Linked DNA regions of Homo sapiens: region 1 is linked to region 2. Evidence: promoter capture Hi-C in 16 types of primary human blood cells and fetal thymus (Javierre and others, 2016). All regions are on one chromosome and are shown on one strand. The core of a region is centred on a gene start or on the middle of the fragment in contact, and the rest is flanking DNA. Distances in the headings are between cores, read along the strand shown. Region 1 overlaps SMARCD2 (SWI/SNF related BAF chromatin remodeling complex subunit D2). Region 2 holds the start of DCAF7 (DDB1 and CUL4 associated factor 7).

The links. Contacts are between HindIII fragments. The CHiCAGO score rates a contact against its expected background, and 5 or more counts as called.
Region 1: a contact is called between a fragment that was not itself captured here and the fragment with the promoter of DCAF7 in region 2, in 1 of 17 cell types (neutrophils). The highest score is 5.8, in neutrophils.

The regions. Positions count from the first base shown.
Region 1 is chr17:63,833,193-63,836,917 of GRCh38, forward strand. SMARCD2 (SWI/SNF related BAF chromatin remodeling complex subunit D2) reads right to left here. Exons shown (of 13, transcript NM_001098426.2): 5 at 2,220-2,375; 6 at 1,513-1,608; 7 at 1,282-1,383; 8 at 975-1,136; 9 at 717-814; 10 at 395-530; 11 at 106-228. Among named protein-coding and RNA genes, the nearest start is that of FTSJ3, 7.4 kb to the left of the region's middle. RefSeq lists an enhancer at 1,851-2,010. The HindIII fragment of the contact is 2,098 bases long and covers 264-2,361 here.
Region 2 is chr17:63,548,168-63,551,916 of GRCh38, forward strand. It overlaps DCAF7 (DDB1 and CUL4 associated factor 7), which reads left to right and starts at 2,310. Exons shown (of 7, transcript NM_005828.5): 1 at 2,310-2,648. The coding sequence starts at 2,511. It also overlaps a transcript of KCNH6 not described here. RefSeq lists enhancers at 1,240-2,224, 1,524-1,913, 2,354-2,433 and silencers at 2,584-2,633, 2,654-2,803. The HindIII fragment of the contact is 8,271 bases long and covers 1-3,117 here.

The DNA of each region.
Region 1 (3,725 bases), core at 63-2,562, 280 kb after region 2:
CCATAGCATAATCCCCACCCCTGGGCTAATCCACCCTGGGAACTGCTGTGGGTAAAAATCACCCAGAGCTTTACATAGGAGTCCCCTCGGGAAAGAGGACTACACCTTGAGGTCTCGGCGCTGGGAACGGAGCCATTCCTGGATGAAGTCCTGGGGGTCGGTGCTAAAACTGAGCATGAAATCTCTCTGGGTCTTCAGCTGGTTGATGGACTCAATGGTCTCATGGATCTGGAGAGGGTACCTGTGTCAGACTGTGCCCCCAAAGCTTACATGCAAGCAACTGAGCCAGAGTTCCCATCCCGTCCTCCAGGTGCTACATGTATGGAAATGCTGGACAGAGCCAGCCCACCCCAATCCTGGGCCCCAGAGGAAGCTGTGGAGCCAGAGGGCCCACCTTGACATCAAGGGAGGCGATCTCCTGCTGATTGGTGGTAGAGGCCAGAAAATTGCTCATTTGGGCCTTCAGTGGGTCGTCCACCTCCACATCGATGTCGTAACAGGCTGTCTTCTTCTGGTCGTTAGGGTCGACACTGCAGGCAGCACATGGGGAGGGAAGGCACATAGCTGACTTCATCCTGCCCACCTGGGCCAAATCTGGGGCCCATTCTCTGCACACACTCAGGGAAAAAGAAACCTGATGCTTTCTTTGGCTTTAGTTCAAGCCAAGGGTGAATCTGCTCTTAGAAGAGCCTTCCTGTCCCCCTCCTTGCATTTACCTAATGACATGGTTGATGACAATGGGGTCTGGATGCTGCAGCAACCCTGCCAGCTTCATGGGAATCTCGGAGAAACGGAGTCGGCCACAACTGAAGATCTGGAGGAAATACGAAAGGCTCAGCGTTGGCTTGTGGGCACAGTGGAGTGGACCATTCCAGGACCAGTGAGGGCAGCAGTCTGCAGGCTGTGGCCAAGGAGTAGCCCAGCAGGCAAGGCAAAGCAAGGGCTGAGAAAACGGGGGCTGGCATCTGGCTAACCTGGCGGAAGTAACGGTTGCAGTTGATGTACTCCCGCTCGTGCCCATCCTGCAGCTGGTTGTGCTTGATGTAAAGCCACAGGGCCTGCATGATGGCGGCCCTCGTCTGCGTGTGCACTCCCAGCAGCCTTGCCAATCGGGGGTCCAATTTGTACTGGGGAGGCTGGAGTTGGATGGAGGGGAGTCAGAACGGGTTCTTATAGTAGAACAGTGGGAAAATAGGGCAGGGACAGGAAGGGTTTCTAGGAACCAGCTCCCCTCCTGAGGGGTCCCTGTGGGCCCAGAAATGACCCCAGGGTCTCTGTCACCTGATGATCCAGCATGAGCAGGAGGGTGCACTTGACGTTGAGGTCTCCAGGCCGTTTTACTTGGAAGCCATCTGTCTCCTGGGTGGTGGGCATCCGGTGCCACTGGCAGGGAGGGAAGCATGGCTTATCACCAAGGGGGTGGGCGTGAACACAGGGCCTCCCAAGGGCCCTGAGGCCATTTCCCTGCCAAACCTGCACATCAGCCTGCTTTTGCCCCAGGCCCACTCTCACCTCCACCAGGTGATTGTCAGGCCCGTACAGCTCCTTGTCCAGCTCAATGACGAGGCTCTTAAAGAATGAAGAAAACTTCCTCTTCTGTTTGCTAGGCTGGGGATGGAAAGGGGTGTGAGATGGTGCTGCTGAGCTCTCAAATCTCAAGCTATGCTAAATCCCAAGAAAGAGAAGCCCCATTTCAGCCCTGGAGCTCCGGATACTGAAGATTCCTGGGCCCTGAAGGATGGAAGCAGGACTCTGGGCAGACTGGAGGCAGGGAAATGGTGCCCTCTTGCAGCCCACGAGGGACTTCCTCGAGACACTCGACTGCCATCTGCAGGAACACTGTAATAACCACACAAATCAACCTCCAACGGGCTTGGAGCAGCGCCCCCCTCCCTATGGCAGGACTTCTCTGGGAGCGCCCAAGTGTCTGGCCCAGTCTTTTTTTTTCTGAGACACAATCTCACTCTGTCACCCAGGCTGAAGTGCAGTGGTGTGATCATAACTCACTGAAGCTCGACCTCCTGGGCTCAAGCCATCCTCCTGCATCAGCCTTATGAGTAGCTGGGACTACAGGTGCATGCCACCGCACCCAGCTAATTTTTAAATTTTTTGTAGAGATGGGGTCTGGCTCTGCTGCTCAGGCTAGTATCAAACTCCTTGGTCTCAGTCTTAAACCCACACAGGCCTCCTTCCCTCCAGAACCTCCCTCCCCAACTCACATCATCCAGCAGTTTTCCTTCCACTCGGAGTTCCCAGGAAGCCACCTTGTCCCCTGCTGGGGTTCCCCCAGGGGTCCCTGCAGTTCCTGCACTATCGCCTTCCGCCTTGCTGGGACTGAACGTATTGGAAATGTAGATCCGAAGCTTTCGCTTTTGCTAAAGAGAGAAAGGCAATCACAACTGGAGGTGGACCAAGATGCTGGGACACAGTGCTACCGCATCTTCTCATATGAACCATTCAACAATCAGTACTGAGCACCATGAGCCAGCCAGGCACCTTGTCAGGTACTGGGAATCAGAAGTAGTAAGTCCCAGTCCCAGCCTTTTTTTTTTTTAGACATGGTCTCACTCTGTCACCCAGGCTGGAGTGCAGTGGCGCGATCTCAGCTCACTTGCAACCTCTGACTCCCAGGTTCAAGCGATTCTCTTGCCTCAGTCTCCCATGTAGCTGGGACTACAGGTGCGCACCACCATGCCCAGCTAATTTTTTGTGTTTTTGTAAAGATGGTATTTCAACATGTTGGCCATGCTGGTCTCAAACTCCTGACCTCAGGTGATCTGCCCACTTCGGCCTCCTAAAGTGCTGAGATTACAGGTGTGAGCCACCGCACCTGGCCGGAACTCACCATTTTATGGGGAAAGAGATGCATCACCAACAATGCCAGCACAGTGGGACTGGTGCTACGGCATGATGGAGTAACACGCAGCCAGTCTCTGGCTCACATCTTACATGAAACCCAAACACCCATCACGGCTCCAAAATATCCTAGTCCCCTGGAAAGGCTTCACCACTCGGGACTGTTCTACATTATTATTAAGAAAAGCTTCTCGGCTGGGTGCAGTGGCTCACGCCTGTAATCTCAGCACTTTGGGAGGCCGAGGCAGTCAGGAGTTCGAGACCAGCCTGGGTAACATGGCGATACTAAAAATACAAAAATTAGCCGGGCGTGGTGACAGGCATCTGTAATCCTAGTTACTCGGGAGGCTGAGGCAAGAAGAATTACTTGAACCTGGGATGCGAAGGTTGCAGTGAGCCGAGATCGCAACACTGCACTCCAGCTTAGGTGAAAGAGCGAGACTCCATCTCAGAAAAAAAAAAAAAAAAAAAAAAGAAAATTTCTCTATGGATGGGGAAGGGGAAGGAGAAAGGAACTACCTTTATCCCCTAGTCTAGTGGTTTTCAAACTTTTGACCACCACCCATAAGATTTACATTTTCAATTATGACCCAAGGTCTGCATATCTATTTATCAGAAACAAAAATGTCATGAAAGAATCCATTTACTACTATGGTAAGTACTACTGTGAAGTATTTTAAGATTTTCTACTGTCATATATTCATTTAAAACATACTGGCCCCAACACATTCAACTGAGTTCGTACTCTACTAGTGGGCTGCATCCTGCATGTGAAAAACCCGGCTCTAGCCCAACTTGCTTGGCCCCTGGAAAACAAGGGGGTGGAAGGCAAGGAAACCTGGGAAGGCTAGAGGTGGTCAGGGCCACAC
Region 2 (3,749 bases), core at 1,060-3,559:
AGGCAGGAGAATGGCGTGAACCCAGGAGGTGGAGCTTGTAGTGAGCCAAGATCGTGCCACTGCACTCCAGCGTGGGCAACAGAGCAAGACTCCGTTTCAAAAAAAAAGTAGGTCGGTCATGGGGTGGCTCATGCCTATAATCCCAGCATTTTGGGAGGCTGAGGTGGGAGGACCAGTTGAACCCAGCCTGGGCAACATAGCAAGATCTTGTCTCTACAAAAAATAAAGGAGGCAGGAGGATTGCTTGAGCCCGGGAGGTCAAGGCTGCAATAAGCACTGTTTGCCCCACTGCACCACCACCTGGATAACAGAGCAAGACCCTGCCTCAAAACGAATGTGTATAAATTAATTGACATTTTAAAATTAATTTTTGTAACCTTAATAAGGCTTTAAGGGTTACATCTATTAGTAGTACAGTTGTTCAAAACAACATAAATATATATTCAATTTTCTAATAAAAACTAAAATTTTATTGGAAATATACGTCATAAAAGAGAAAATTTCCTCCCCCCGTTAGTTCCTATATCTGTGGATAAATATCATTATTTTTTATTAGAATAAGACAAGGTACCGCGAATTTTGTACGTCTTTTTCTTTCCTTTTTAAATTTGTTTTTAAACTTTCCTCCTTACAGGGGATTTCCTTTAGCTGGGCATGGTGGCGGGCGCCTGTAATCCCAGCTACTCAGGAGGCTGAAGCAAGAGAATCACTTGAACCCTAAAGGCAGAGGTTGCAGTGAGCCGAGATAGTGCCACTGCACTACAGCCCGGGCGACAGAGTGAGACTCCATCTCAAAAATAAAATAAAATTAAAAAAAAAAGAGGATTTCTTGGCCAGATGCGGTGGCTCACGCCTGTAATCCCAACACTTTGGGAGGCCGAGGCTGGAAGATCATTTGAGGTCAGGAGTTCGACACCAGAATGGCCAACATGGTGAAACCCCATCTCTACTAAAAATACAAAAATTAGCTGGCTGTGGTGGTGCACCCCTGTAATCTCAGCTACTCGGGAGGCTGAAGCAGGAGAATCACTTGAACCTGGGAGGTGGAAAAATCATTTATCATTAAAAATTATATTTAGTGCCCAGAATGGTGGCTCAAGCCTGTAATCCCAGTACTTTAGGATGCTGATGTGGGAGGATCGCTTGAGCCCAGGAGTTCGAGATCAGCCTGGGCAACATGGAGAGATCTCATCTCTACAAATAATAATTTAAAAATAGCTAGGTGTGGTGGCAAATGTCTGTGGTTCCAGCTACTCCAGAGGCTAAAGTGGGGGAATCGTTTGAACCTAGGCAGTCCAGGCTACAGTGAGCCCTTATCACACCAGTGCACTCCAGCCTGGGTGACAGGGCAAGACCCTGTCTTTAAAAAAAAAAAAAAAAAGTATTTAATGTTATCATCCAACAATTCAATACAAACCTCCTTCAATTTTGATGAAAGCTGAGAATTGGAAATAATTTATATAAAGGTGTCATTTGGTCTCTGGCCCTTCCCCTTTTCCAACTCACAGGCACAGATACCTTTGGGGCTGGATTAGCATTTGCGTTGGGATCCACGGCGGGAAGGGTACAGGATGGGAACTGACAAAAACAGAGCCAAGCTGGTCGGGTCGGTGCCTACCCCAGAATTCGGGGACATTTCTAGATCCTGCAGGAAAGCGCGGGAGGGCCTGACTCAAGCTGGCCTGGCCCTGAGCGCATCTGCGCGCCCGAAGCCTGTCCCTGAGGCACGGAGAGAGCAGCTTTCGGGTTAAAAGGGCCCTGGGAAGAGATGGGGCGGGAAGGTGGTACCCGTTGGGCGCAGGCCAGGCTGCCAGGCCGCAGGGCTCTGTCCCGCGAAAGTCAGTAGGTCTTCCACTAAGGCAGAATTGTACTTTTACTCGACAGCGTGGAGAGGCCGCTCAGAACAGCAGCAGCGGAGGGGAAGTCAGCGCAGGTCACAGACGGTTTCACTCTCAGAGACTTGGCCTAGAACTTGGAGGCCCGCTGCTACAGCACGCTCGCCTCCAGGCCACCCACGCCCCCACCACCCGCACTGAGCCGTTATCTGCCTGACTGACATCTTGGCCAACCAATGACCTTTGGGGCTGCCAAAGCGCCTGCCTCCGAGAGTTGGGCGGGGCGAGTAGTTGCAATGACAAACATTTAACCCAATAGCGAGGAGATTTCAGACGCTACGGCCGCAATAACCAATGACAAGAAAGAATCCTTTCGAAAGGACGTGTCAGGCAACCAACGGCCGGTGCCGCTGCGGGGGTCCGGCGGCTTCCGTTCCGAGAGGGCGGGGCGGCGTCCCAAAACGGAAGGTGGTTGTCGTCCGTTCCCAAGCTGGTTTGAAACTAGGGGTCGGGCTCGGCCGTCGTCGTTGTTTGTCGCCGCATCCCCGCTTCCGGGTTAGGCCGTTCCTGCCCGCCCCCTCCTCTCCTCCCTTCGGACCCATAGATCTCAGGCTCGGCTCCCCGCCCGCCGCAGCCCACTGTTGACCCGGCCCGTACTGCGGCCCCGTGGCCACCATGTCCCTGCACGGCAAACGGAAGGAGATCTACAAGTATGAAGCGCCCTGGACAGTCTACGCGATGAACTGGAGTGTGCGGCCCGATAAGCGCTTTCGCTTGGCGCTGGGCAGCTTCGTGGAGGAGTACAACAACAAGGTGGGCCGGGCAGGGGCTCGGAACCCAGCTGGCGGGGAGCGGGCCCCGGGAGCGCCCTTTCCGGGCCGGAGCCCAGGCCTCAGAACCCTCTTGCGGACTCGCCCTAGGGCCACGGAGCGGTTCCTCTGTCTGGCCCTGTGCTGAAGGTTTCGTACTCGTTGTCTGTCTCCTTTAATCCAGGCAGCATTCTTGTGTAGTCGGCAGTGTAGTGGGGAAACTGAGGCACGGTTTTGTGACTTGCCTGGGTCAGGCAGCTATTTCGGGGTGGAAACAGGTCTTAAAACCGGGTTTACGCCCCAAAGATACTCCATTTATTCATCCCGTGCTCTCCACTCCTGCCGCATTGCTTTCGTTGGTGGGCGGGGAAGGGAAGAGAGAGTGATAGCTGTGAAGGAAAATGCAGGCGCTTCTATTGGTGGTCGTGCACTCCTGGCCACACTAGATTTCTATTAAGACGATCTATTGTACAAGCTTCCCCGCCCCCTACTCCCACCCCCCCCGGGTACTCATGGATCCTAGCCCTTCTGCCAGAATTACTGTTGCTCTTGCTTCCTGATATCCATTCTCTCTAAAGCAATCTCTTTGGAAATCTTGGCCTGTGGCATGATCCCGCCGTTGTTTCCTGAACACAGAAGGATGACAGGGCCTTATCTCTTGGCTTGTTTCGTGCTAGTACAGTTGTGTGACCTTTAGTAGTAAGTCTTGCTGGACATACATCAATTTGAGAATCCTTTATAGAAGCACGGTGTAGTAGGGGAGCTTTTAAACTGGCATTGCAACAAACTCATTTTTGAAAGTTGAATAAGTCAGTTGGAAGAATTTTCTTTCTTCCTTTTACTCAAAGTTGTGAATGATAGCGATCAGAGCAACTGAAAGCTGTGGCTAGTGATATTTAAAGCCACTACTCCTGCTTTATGCCATGAACATCAGATTTAAGAAGAGTAAAACTGGCCGGGCGCGGTGGCTCACGCCTGTAATCCCAGGACTTTGGGAGGCCGAGGCGGGCGGATTACCTGAGCTCAGGAGTTCGCGACCAGCCTGGGTAACACGGTGAAACCCCGTCTCTACTAAAATACAAAAAAAAAAAAAAAAAAAAAAAAA